2 separate regions of the Homo sapiens genome follow, and region 1 is linked to region 2. Evidence: promoter capture Hi-C in 16 types of primary human blood cells and fetal thymus (Javierre and others, 2016). All regions are on one chromosome and are shown on one strand. The core of a region is centred on a gene start or on the middle of the fragment in contact, and the rest is flanking DNA. Distances in the headings are between cores, read along the strand shown.

Region 1 (6,511 bases), core at 2,546-5,045, 190 kb before region 2:
AATTAGGGGAGCCCTGTTTTTCCGAGTCCTCAAGAGTACTAAGCACTGCTCCTTTAAAAATGTTTTAACAGCTAGATAGGTGAAAATGCCTTAGTTTTCACTTTAATTTGCATTATTATTGTAAGTTAGACTTTTTCAGATGATTTTTATTGATTTATGTGTATTATTATTTATGAATACCCTTTGCTGTCTGATTTGTAAGCACTAATATATTTAGGGCCTTGCATTTTTGTTGCAGATGCTTTTCCATTCTTAAATTAGACTTTTACTTTTCCTTACTTTGTGTTTTTTTTTTTTTTTTTTGACCCAAGCTTTTATATAGTCAAATTTGTTAATAGTTCCCTTAAGGCTTTTATCTTTGCTCTTATTTTGTAATTTTGTGCTAGTAATGCCTTGCTTTAATTTTAATAATTTGTAATGCAAGACTTCCCATGGTATTCTTAATTTTCAAAAATTTCTTAGTGATGTTTTTACATTTTTTCCCTCTAATTGAACTTTAGAATTATAAGGTCACTATCTCTAAAAAAATTTCTATTGTGATTTTTGTTGAAATTATATTAAATTAATGAATTCAGAAAGAAGCATCTTTAAACTTGTATTTTTCCTTCCAAGAATGAAATGTTTATGTATTTATTGTCTTTTATGCTCCTCAGTAAACTTTTATTTTCTTCATAGATTTTATACCTATTTTTAGTTGAATATATGTCTGTGTAACTTATGTGGGGTTTTTTGTTATTAATGTTTTGAGGTTTTTTTTTTCTTTTGCGCATGGGATTTTTTTTTCCATTACATTTTCTGACTGGGGATACGTTAGATCTTGATTTATGTGAGTTTATTTTGTAAACTGACAACCTGTTTTTTTTTTAACTATTCTACTCGGTTCATGACTGATTCTTGGGTATTCTAGGTAGCAATCATATAATGTGTAAATTATCATTTTTCTCCTTCTAACCAATATTTTGTAATTGGCTTGTCTTATTAATTTGATATTCAAAAACAGTATCAAAGAATTCTTGTGATAACAGCACAGCCTTGTCTTACTTGTGTTTTAAAAAACAAATGCCTCTTGTACTGTTTCCAAGAGTGCATTCTTTGTACACACAAGTTATTAATAGATACATAAATAAAAATCCCTTGGTCACGTACATTTGGGAAGTGTCACTCTAGTGCTTCCATTAGTATACTGTTGTCTTTTAGCTTGAAACATTATTTTCTGCATTAAGAAAGTTTTTTTCTGCCTCCAATTTTACTAAAACTTTTTTAAAAATCATAATTGAAGGGAGAGGAAGGGAGGGGAGCAAGGGTTGAAAAAACTATTGAATACTGTACTCAGTAATGGGGTGACAGGATTGATTGCACCCCAAACCTCAGCATCGCACATTATACCTGGTAACAAACCTGCACTTGTACCCCTGAATCTAAAATAAAACTTGAAATAAATTTTTTAATTAATTAACTAAAATCTTTATTGAATATTGGCTTTTTCATATAATTTAAGCTGACCATGGAAAGGCAATTATTGTAAACACAGTTAGCTTTTTGAGATACTCCAAGTACTAGCAAATAATAAAATCATGTTTCTCTTAAAATATTATTTAATTCAGATTTTATATCAGTTTAGATGAATGGGATCATTTTATTTCCTTATAGTTTGGAGAATGTCTTAAAATTTCTTCCTATGGGTCTACTGATCACTTCCCCATACCAGAGTAATGTGTGGAAATTATCTTAAGAGTTAGTGCTTTTTGCAAGTTATTTTGGGGTGGGCAGTTTGTTGAAATCATTGAGAAATTTTGGTTTTGGCAGAGGGGAAAAAGCTTGTGTTTCTTTTGCCTGAAAGTCTGTGCTTTTTCATCTCTGTTTTCCTTTTATTGAGAATTTTAATGTAATTTCATGTTATATTTGGGCCTATGCTTCTTCATTTGCAAAATTTGGGGTGTGGTTGACTGCTAAATGCCATTGAAGTCTCTTGATTTCTTGGTGGTGGTGGTTTTGTTTGTTTTATTCTGTGATCATCTCTTGCAGCAGTCATTTTATGAAGGCCAGGCAGGATGCCTTGGGACGGGGAAAGAGAAGAAGGTAAAGAGTGGGGAGAAGGTTACATCTCCTTTCGAGAAAACCTGAGTTGGTTTCCCTTTGGTGCAAAGGCAATAATATCTTGCATATTTTCCCACCCTCCCTTAAACACCCTGTGGATTAGGAACTCAAATGACTCTATAGGTTTAGGAAGATTAATCCTCTGTGGGAAAAAGTAGAGATTTTCTCCCCCTTTTCTATGTTCTTGGCAAAGTGAATACAACAGAAAATTATCAAAATCTGTCATGAGAGTTTGAATTTAGGAAAATTAACTTGAATGTGTATAAAACATGACACTGTGCTGCCATCCCACCGGCCCTTCAAGCCTAGGGGAGCCCTGATGTAACCAGAGCCTGAGATGGAGACGTCTTGCAGAAAGAGGAGGAGAAATGCCAGGGTGCTGTATTCCTGTTAGGTCCAGCCATGGTCGTCTCCATTCCAGAGAGGTCATGACAAGACCATTTTCTACCCAGATGGCCAAGTGTGTACTCTTCCTTGTTATAAACTCATCACCCATTCATTTATTCAACAAATTGTCCTCTAGGACCACTTTCTGGGACCACACAGATGCAAGCCAGTCTCCTTCATTTCAACCCAGTGCCAATTAGCATCAACTCTTGGGGCTAGTGGGATAAAGAGTGAAAATGTTCGGGTGCCTCAAGTAAACAGGACCTAAAAGTATTGAAAGTATTTCACGGCCCGGCACAGTGGCACATGCCTGTAATCCCAGCACGTTGGGAGGCCAAGGCGGGCAGATCACCTGAGGTCAGGAGTTTGAGACTAGCCTGACCAACATGGTGAAACCCCGTCTCTACTAAAAATACAAAAATTAGCCGGGCATGGTGGCGCATGCCTGTAATCCCAGCTACTTGGGAGGCTGAGGCAGGAGAATCGCTTGAACCCAGGAGGCGGAGGTTGTAGTGAACTGAGATCGCGCCATTGCACTCCAGCCTGGGCAACAGGAATGAAACTCCATCTCAAAAAAAAAAAAAAGAAAATATTTCACACTTGCTATATGTATTAGTTTCTTATTGCTGCAGTCGCAAATTACTGCAAACTTAGGGACTTAAAAACATTTATTATGTTATAGTTCTGTAGAACAGACATTTAGTATTCTTCTGGCTGGGCTAAAATCAAGGTGTCAGTGTGGCTGTGTTCCTTATGGAGGCTCTAGGAGAGAAGCCTTTTCCACAGGGGCCACTTACATTTCTTGGCTCATGGCCGCTTCCTTCACCTTTAAAGCCAACAATGGCAGATTGAGTCCCTCTTACATTATGTCTCACTCACCCGCTCCTTTGCCTCTTCTTTTTTTAACTCTTAACAACCCATATTATTACATTAGGCCCACCTGGACAGTCTAGGACAATCTCCCTAACTCAAGATCAGCTGTTCATCAACCTTGATCGTATTTGCAACCTTGTAAAGTAACATTATATTTTGCCTTCTAAGGTTACATATTTGCTGGCTCTAGAGGTTAGGATGTGGACATCTTTGGGAGACATTGTTCTGTCTGCCACCATATAATTTCACAATGTCCTCCTCTGTGCATCTGCAGCTCTTTGTTATGCCTTTGTCATTACTGTCAGTCTGTCTGGTACTCTCAGTAGATACCAACTGTGATCCTGAGGTGTAGACATCACTGTCTCAGGTCTGTATTTCCTTCTCCTCTTCTCTTTCCCTTTTCTACTTCACTCCTTCCATAAAATCGATGTGCTCAATAAATGTACCTTCAATACCTAAGTCTCCCTGTAATCAACTTACATAAATAAGAAATCACTTTCTGGGACATAAACATGAACCTGGCTTCAAATGCAACACGTTGTGACTGAAAAGCAAATGTGGCTCAGGTTACTACTGTTAACATGAAGCAATTCATGTTTGAACAGAATTTTCAAAATCAAATTTTGAACTCACTGCTGGAGACGATGTGGCCCCCTTCATTTCCTGGATTATTATGCATCTCCCACAGAACCATTTGCTATATTATTTCTTTGGTGTTTACAGAAGCAGATCATGTTTATGAAGCATGTCCAGAAGAAGGAAATGATATATGGAAAATCTCTACGTGGGGTATAGAGTCAAGTGATCCCTAGGTTACAGTTGAGAGCTATAAATAGGCCAGTGACTTCATGTGTACCATGGGACTGGTATTTTCCATCTTTCGTCCCACAGTTTGGATAAACTTAGATGGATTTTTTAATAGTTCTTTGAAAATGGAACATTAGCTATCCACAGAGATTTAACTTGGGACAAAAAAAAGGAATAAAAGTCATCATTTCTGATGACAGGATTAGACAGACCTTTTTTCTTGAAAGTAATTGAATATTCTGTGTGTTTTTTGCAGTTTCTGTTGAATTGAGAATAGTGACCATCATTTGAGGTGGAAATAGCAGAAATGATTAATTTAGAAAGAAGAAGGATTGTAGGGTGGGTGGAAGTGGCATTTTCTGCATTGTATTCTTAGAAACTTAGACTGTTAGAGTTGGAAGTGCTCTGATAAAACCGTTCTTTAACATACGAGAAAACAGAGGCCCAAATACCTTAAGTCCCTTGTCCAAGAGTATGCTGAGTGCAGAAAGCCACACTGTGGCTCAGGTCCTGGGCCCTGGCCCTCAGCGTTTCTCAGCCCACTGCACTCATCTCCAGCACTTCTGATGGACTCACTGGGGTGACACCATCAAACCATGTGCCCCAAAGATGCCTTCATGTTGGTTTCCACTTGGGCATTTCTCATGCTTGGATGGCTAATATACTCCCTGCCTGGTTTACTCTTGAGAACCCGGCTTTCATCTGCTGTGGGACACAGTAGCCTTTGCGTGAGTGCCTACGTGCACATGTGTCCATGGAGGCAGGGAGGGTGGACAGGCAGGGAGGGTGGACAGTGGTACACACACTGCACCAGCAGCACTTTTAAAGACAAGGATCATGACAAAAGCAACAGCAAGTGCACTTTCTTTTCCAAATTACCCAAGGTTGTTTTTTAAAAATAGTAATATCACTTCAAGTGTTTTGCACTTGGCTTGGTGAAACAAAATGTGAGTTAAAACTGTGGAGTATTAAAGCATTATTCTTGACACACCTACAATATGAGACACTCCATTGATGTGGATAGCATATATGCAGACAACAAGCATTGATGTTGTACTTCCACCTATAGATAGAAGGGGGATGTACCTTGGTATGGGAGTTTTGCACTTAGACAAAGTCTTAGTTCTCAACCAGAGCTGATTTTGCTCACCACCCCTCCAGAGGGCATTTATTACTGTCTGCAGGTATTTTTGGTTTTTATGTCTGGAGGAAGTGGTGCTACAGGCACCATTTGTAAAGACCGGGGATGCTGCTGAACATCCTACAATGGACAGCTCCACACATCAAAGAAGTCTCGAATCCAAAATGTCAATAGTGCCAAAGTTGAGAAATCCTGGCCTACAGGAATTTATGACTTATCTGATACTGGGCTTTGAAGGCTATATAGACAGTTGATTAATTTAGAAACAGCTTGGCTTGTGGAATAAACATACCTGGTATAGTCTGTGAACTGAAGTGAGCCAAGGTGGTCCCAGTATTGCTTCCACACTTGCTGTCTCAGATCTCTGTTCTCAGTGACCAGAGTTAAAAACCAGCTTCCCTCTGCCCTTCACGTCTGTGGGTCCTATGGTTGAGGATTTTTATGTATTGTTTTTCTTTGGGGTCCTGATAAAGCTTAGATAACCAAACATAGAATTTTTAAAGGTGATTGTGAATACAAAGAACTAAGGAGTGCCTTACCCTGATCCATTCTTTACACAAGCAGCCCCAGTCAGGGAACCCTATGCCAGGGGAGGAATTGGGCCTCAGCATGGACAAGTCTTGGCAAAGACCGCTATGGCAGCAGTGTCTGAAAAAGGAAAAGAGTCCAAGGAGGGAGGAAATGACTAGGAGGCTGCTAGAGCCTTCCCTCAGCGCCATGTTCTACTCACAGACCAATGTAGTAAAAATGATTTGTATTTCCTTGTTCCTTTTTAAATTTTTGAAAAAAAATTTCCATATTTGGGGGTTTTCCCCATTGCCAGGTGGTTACATTCCAAAGAAATTATATCATGGGATACAGACACAAGTATTTCCAATCATGCTTATTGTGTAGGGCTGATGGCAAGGTGATTCCCCTCCATGGCCACACATCATAACCAGGCAAGCCCGTTAAGTATCAGCAACTGGAAGTCCAGCATCAGGACCACCCATCCCTCTGTCAGGCAGCCCCGGTTGGTGGTGGTAAATGGAGGAGACTGAGGCCTCTTTCACTCACTTAAATTCGGAGAGTGAGCCACTCTACTCCTGTTGGGAAAACCTATTTCCTTACCCAACGAGACTGTAGAAAATTCCCCTCAGCCATATACCATGCCAGGTTTCTTTTACAAGCCAACCTGTTTCCAAGCAACCCTTCTTGTAACCTTCT
Region 2 (6,489 bases), core at 2,953-5,452:
TGAAAACATCTTTTCTGCCCAGAGATTCTGTGGGCCTGAAATTCACATGGAACACATAAGGCATACCTTGTTTCTGCTCCATGATGTCTAAGGATTCAGCTGGAAGACTGGGAGGCTGGGGGCTGGAATTTATCTGAAGAATGACTCATTTACATGTCTACTGGTTGACCCTGGCTGTTGGCTGAGGGGGCCTCAGCTCTCTCTACATTGTTTCTCTACTTTGGCTAGTTTGGATTTCCTCAAAACATGATGGCTGGTCCTCAGTGTCAGCATCCCAAAAAGAGAATGCCGGACACAGTGGCTCACACCTGTAACCTCAGCAATTTGGGAGGCTGAGGTGGGAGGTTGCTTGAGTTCAGGAGTTCAAGACCAGCCTGGGCAACATAGTGAGACTCTGTCTCTACCAAAAATTTTTAAAATTTTAAAAATCAGCCAGGTGTGGTTATGCACACCTATAGTCCCAGTTACTTAGGAGGCTGAGGCAGGAGGATCACTTGATTCCAGGAGGTCAAGGCTGCTGTGAGCTATGACCACACCACTGCATTTCAGCCTGGGTAACAGAATGAGACTCTGTTTCAAACAAACAAAAACCCAAAAAAAAAAAAAAGAGAGAGAGAGGGAGTTAGAAGGAAGATGCATCATTTTTATGACCTGGACTTGGAAGTCACCAAGCAGCACTTCTGCAGTACCCTGTTGGTTGGAATAGTTGTAGCCCAAACCCGAATTCGAAGGGAGGAGAATAGATAACATCCCTGGGTGACAGGAATGTCAAAGTCCCAAACAGCATATGACATGTGACAAATATTGGTGTGGCCTTCTTTGGAAGATCCAATCTTCCATACCAGGCAAAGGGATGGAAGACTAAGGAACAACATGAGGGATAGCCAGAGAGGGAAAAAGCATCACTTGTTCTAGGAACTACAAATAGCTTGAAGAAGCAAAGATGTCTAGATGCCTCCCAATATGCAGAGTGGGGTGTACAGAAGAGAGTGGTAAGGGCGCTGGGAGAGCTAAGGTGGGCAAGAGAGCTTCCTCTGTCATGCTAAGAAAGTTGGAATTTATCTTGATGGTGGTGAAAGCAGAGGGCTATGGTTAGATTCACATTTGAGATTTAGATTTTTAGATTTAAAATGATCACCCTGGTGACACTGGCTTAACTCACAATTTTGCCCAAGGCCTATGCTACCACAGTGCTTCTGAAACTTTAAAGCACATTAGAATCACCTGGAGGTCTTGTTAAACCATGGATTGCTGGGCCTTGAAACCCCAGAGATTCTGATTCAGTAGATCGAGAATAGGGCCTGAGAATTTGTATTTCTAACAAGTTTCCAGGTGATGCTGAGGCTGCTGGCCCAGCGACCACATTTGATAATCATAGCCCTCTGATAAATCCTATCAAAATATCCTAATGGCAGAGCAAGGGAATTCTGGTGATATCCTCCCCTACCCATAACCTGACAGCTATTAGGATCTGCCTACTTGAGGCTAAAAGCAACCAAGAGAGGAACAGCTACAGTGTACCACAGAGTCCCTCAACATCTTTGCCCACGCCACGGTGCCCCAGCTTCTTACCAAGTGTGCCTGATTCCTCTTGACTACCTCCAAGGAAGTGGAGAAAGACAAGTTCTTGCGAAGCCTTCGTCTTCTCTGATATGCTATTCTATGTCTATTTCTTTGGCCAAAAAGATGGGGCAATGATATCAACTTTGCAGGGAGCTGGAGCATTTGCTAGTGACCTTTCTATGCCAGAACTTGCTAAGCATGCTAGCTAATAATGATGTAGCACAGGGTGCGGTGGCTCACGCCTGTAATCTCAGCACTTTGGGCGGCCGAGGCGGGCGGATCACCTGAGGTCAGGAGTTCGAGACCAGCCTGGCCAACATGATGAAACCCCATCTCTACTAAAAATACAAAAATTAGCCAGGCGTGGTGGTGGGCACCTGCAATCCCAGCTACTCTGGAGGCTGAGACAGAATCTCTTGAACCCAGGAGGTGGAGATTGCAGTGAGCAGAGATGGCACCACTGCATTCCAGCCTGGGCAACAAAGCAAGACTCTGTCTCAAATAATAATAATAATAATAACTAATGATGCAGCTTTCTCTCTCTGAGTATATAATGCAGTTCTGATGATGTGAGGAAGGGCCTCACTGTTGGTGTGGCAGAGTCTGAGACCATGGCTGGCAATGAAAACACTACCCTTTGATGCCTATGGGCTCTCCCTTTATGGTTTCAAGGAGGGCTTCTCAATCTTGGCAGAATTTTGGACTGGATAGTTCTTTGTTGCACAGGTGGGGGGCTGTCCTGCACATCACAGGATGTTTCATCCCTGGCCTCTACCTACTAGATGCCAGTAGAACATACCCACCCCACAGCTGCCTGTTGTGACAATCAAAAGCATCTCCAGATACTTTGCAGGGGGAAAATGATTTCTCCAGGCCTGGCATATACATAACAGTATTTAAGCAGCTGCCTAGAATTAATTAAACACAGAAGGATGTCTCTCATCCAGAATGCCCTGGACCACCTCTTTGATAGGCAATCAGATCCCACCTCCTCCACCCTATTTTTGAAGGCCCTGTGCCAACACCACTTCTTCCATGAATACTTCCTTGATTCCCCCATCCCTAGCTCTATATAAATCTCCCACTCAACACTCACACCTGTTAGTTTACATTCCTCTTGACACTTGTCATTTAGCATCCTAAGTATGTAAACATGTCTCTCTTCACGATTCACAAAGTGGCTTTGGAAGAACTTTAGTACCTTCCCATCTTCTCTGCCATGGAAAGTGTACACAACTGACATTTTCTTTTTTTTTAAGACAGTATCTTGCTATGATGGCCGGGCTGGAATGCTGTGGCTATTCACAGGCACAATCATAGCTCACTGCAGCCTTGAGCTCCCAGGCTCAAGTGATCCTCCCGCCTCAGCCTCCTGAGTAGCTGAGATCACAGGCATGCACTACCACACTCGGCTCACATTTGACATCCTCTAAAGCATATATAAAATGTGAAGAAAACTTTCACAATTTGCATCCCTTTGTAATATGTAACAGAAATAAAATTCTCTTTTAAAATCTATCAACAATAGGCAAGGCACGGTGGCTCACGCCTGTCGTCTCAGCACTTTGTGAGGCCCAGGCGGGCAGATCGTTTGAGCCTAGAAGTTCAAGACCACCCTGGGCAACATAGCGAAACCCCCTTTCTACAAAAAATACAAAAACTAGCTGGGTGTGGTGGTGCACACCTGTAGTCCCAGCTACTTGGAAGGCTGAAATGGGAAGACTGCTTGAGCCCGGGAGGGAGAAGTTGCAGTAAGCCAGGACCACACCACTGCACTCCAGCCTGGGCAACAGAGTGAGACTCTGTCTCAAACAAACAAATAAATGAGGCGGGTGGATCACGAGGTCAGTAGATCGAGACCATCCTGGCTAACACGGTGAAACCCGTCTCTACTAAAAAAAAAAAAAAATACAAAAAATTAGCCAGGCATGGTGGCGGGCGCCTGTAGTCCCAGTTACTCGGGAGGCTGAGGCAGGAGAATGGCGTGAAACCGGGAGGCAGAGCTTGCAGTGAGCCGAGATCGCACCACTGCCCTCCAGCCTGGGCGACAGAGCGAGACTCCGTCTCAATCAATCAATCAATCAATAAAATCTATTAACAATATTTATTGTGCACTTAACAGGAACATGCCCTGTCCAAAAAAAACTTTACAGGGCTTAACTCATTTTATCCTTACCACAATCCTATGAAGTAGGAACTTTTATAAAACGCATTTTATAAACAAGGCACAGAGAGGTTAATTAACTTGCCCTCTGGTCACACAGCTAGGAAGTGGGCAGAGTACAGATTTACACAAGGCATCCGTCTCCTGGCCCCACATACCCAACTGCTGTAAACCCATACCGGCGGCCAAGCAGCCTCAATTTGTGCATGCACCCACTTCCCAGCAAGACAGCAGCTCCCAAGTTCCTCCTGTTTAGAATTTTAGAAGCGGCGGGCCACCAGGCTGCAGTCTCCCTTGGGTCAGGGGTCCTGGTTGCACTCCGTGCTTTGCACAAAGCAGGCTCTCCATTTTTGTTAAATGCACGAATAGTGCTAAGCTGGGAAGTTCTTCCTGAGGTCTAACCTCTAGCTGCTCCCCCACAGAAGAGTGCCTGCGGCCAGTGGCCACCAGGGGTCGCCGCAGCACCCAGCGCTGGAGGGCGGAGCGGGCGGCAGACCCGGAGCAGCATGTGGACTCTCGGGCGCCGCGCAGTAGCCGGCCTCCTGGCGTCACCCAGCCCAGCCCAGGCCCAGACCCTCACCCGGGTCCCGCGGCCGGCAGAGTTGGCCCCACTCTGCGGCCGCCGTGGCCTGCGCACCGACATCGATGCGACCTGCACGCCCCGCCGCGCAGTAAGTATCCGCGCCGGGAACAGCCGCGGGCCGCACGCCGCGGGCCGCACGCCGCACGCCTGCGCAGGGAGGCGCCGCGCACGCCGGGGTCGCTCCGGGTACGCGCGCTGGACTAGCTCACCCCGCTCCTTCTCAGGGCGGCCCGGCGGAAGCGGCCTTGCAACTCCCTTCTCTGGTTCTCCCGGTTGCATTTACACTGGCTTCTGCTTTCCGAAGGAAAAGGGGACATTTTGTCCTGCGGTGCGACTGCGGGTCAAGGCACGGGCGAAGGCAGGGCAGGCTGGTGGAGGGGACCGGTTCCGAGGGGTGTGCGGCTGTCTCCATGCTTGTCACTTCTCTGCGATAACTTGTTTCAGTAATATTAATAGATGGTATCTGCTAGTATATACATACACATAATGTGTGTGTCTGTGTGTATCTGTATATAGCGTGTGTGTTGTGTGTGTGTGTTTGCGCGCACGGGCGCGCGCACACCTAATATTTTCAAGGCTGGATTTTTTTGAACGAAATGCTTTCCTGGAACGAGGTGAAACTTTCAGAGCTGCAGAATAGCTAGAGCAGCAGGGGCCCTGGCTTTTGGAAACTGACCCGACCTTTATTCCAGATTCTGCCCCACTCCGCAGAGCTGTGTGACCTTGGGGGATTCCCCTAACCTCTCTGAGACGTGGCTTTGTTTTCTGTAGGGAGAAGATAAAGGTGACGCCCATTTTGCGGACCTGGTGTGAGGATTAAATGGGAATAACATAGATAAAGTCTTCAGAACTTCAAATTAGTTCCCCTTTCTTCCTTTGGGGGGTACAAAGAAATATCTGACCCAGTTACGCCACGGCTTGAAAGGAGGAAACCCAAAGAATGGCTGTGGGGATGAGGAAGATTCCTCAAGGGGAGGACATGGTATTTAATGAGGGTCTTGAAGATGCCAAGGAAGTGGTAGAGGGTGTTTCACGAGGAGGGAACCGTCTGGGCAAAGGCCAGGAAGGCGGAAGGGGATCCCTTCAGAGTGGCTGGTACGCCGCATGTATTAGGGGAGATGAAAGAGGCAGGCCACGTCCAAGCCATATTTGTGTTGCTCTCCGGAGTTTGTACTTTAGGCTTGAACTTCCCACACGTGTTATTTGGCCCACATTGTGTTTGAAGAAACTTTGGGATTGGTTGCCAGTGCTTAAAAGTTAGGACTTAGAAAATGGATTTCCTGGCAGGACGCGGTGGCTCATGCCCATAATCTCAGCACTTTGGGAGGCCTAGGAAGGTGGATCACCTGAGGTCCGGAGTTCAAGACTAACCTGGCCAACATGGTGAAACCCAGTATCTACTAAAAAATACAAAAAAAAAAAAAAAAGAAGAAGAAGAAGAAGAAAATAAAGAAAAGTTAGCCGGGCGTGGTGTCGCGCGCCTGTAATCCCAGCTACTCCAGAGGCTGCGGCAGGAGAATCGCTTGAGCCCGGGAGGCAGAGGTTGCATTAAGCCAAGATCGCCCAATGCACTCCGGCCTGGGCGACAGAGCAAGACTCCGTCTCAAAAAATAATAATAATAAATAAAAATAAAAAATAAAATGGATTTCCCAGCATCTCTGGAAAAATAGGCAAGTGTGGCCATGATGGTCCTTAGATCTCCTCTAGGAAAGCAGACATTTATTACTTGGCTTCTGTGCACTATCTGAGCTGCCACGTATTGGGCTTCCACCCCTGCCTGTGTGGACAGCATGGGTTGTCAGCAGAGTTGTGTTTTGTTTTGTTTTTTTGAGACAGAGTTTCCCTCTTGTTGCCCAGGCTGGAGTGCAGTGGCTCAGTCTCAGCTCACTGCAACCTCTGCCTCCTGGGTTCAAGTGATTCTCCTGCCTCAGCCTCCCGAGTAGCTGGGATTATCGGCTAATTTTGTATTTTTAGTAGAGACAGATTTCTCCATGTTGGTCAGGCTGGTCTCGAACTCCCAACCTCAGGTGATCCGCCCACCTCGCCCTCCCAAAGTGCTGGAATTACAGGCGTGAGCCACCGCGTCTGGCCATCAGCAGAGTTTTTAATTTAGGAGAATGACAAGAGGTGGTACAGTTTTTTAGATGGTACCTGGTGGCTGTTAAGGGCTATTGACTG

What was found. Contacts are between HindIII fragments. The CHiCAGO score rates a contact against its expected background, and 5 or more counts as called.
Region 1: a contact is called between a fragment that was not itself captured here and the fragment with the promoter of FXN in region 2, in 2 of 17 cell types (erythroblasts and megakaryocytes). The highest score is 6.6, in erythroblasts.

The regions. Positions count from the first base shown.
Region 1 is chr9:68,837,323-68,843,833 of GRCh38, forward strand. The region is part of intron 4 of PIP5K1B (phosphatidylinositol-4-phosphate 5-kinase type 1 beta); the gene reads left to right. Among named protein-coding and RNA genes, the nearest start is that of PABIR1, 61 kb to the left of the region's middle. The HindIII fragment of the contact is 3,961 bases long and covers 1,816-5,776 here.
Region 2 is chr9:69,031,550-69,038,038 of GRCh38, forward strand. FXN (frataxin) reads left to right here and starts at 4,203. Exons shown (of 5, transcript NM_000144.5): 1 at 4,203-4,398. The coding sequence starts at 4,234. RefSeq lists silencers at 4,092-4,561, 5,144-5,438 and an enhancer at 4,722-4,771. The HindIII fragment of the contact is 18,212 bases long and covers 1-6,489 here.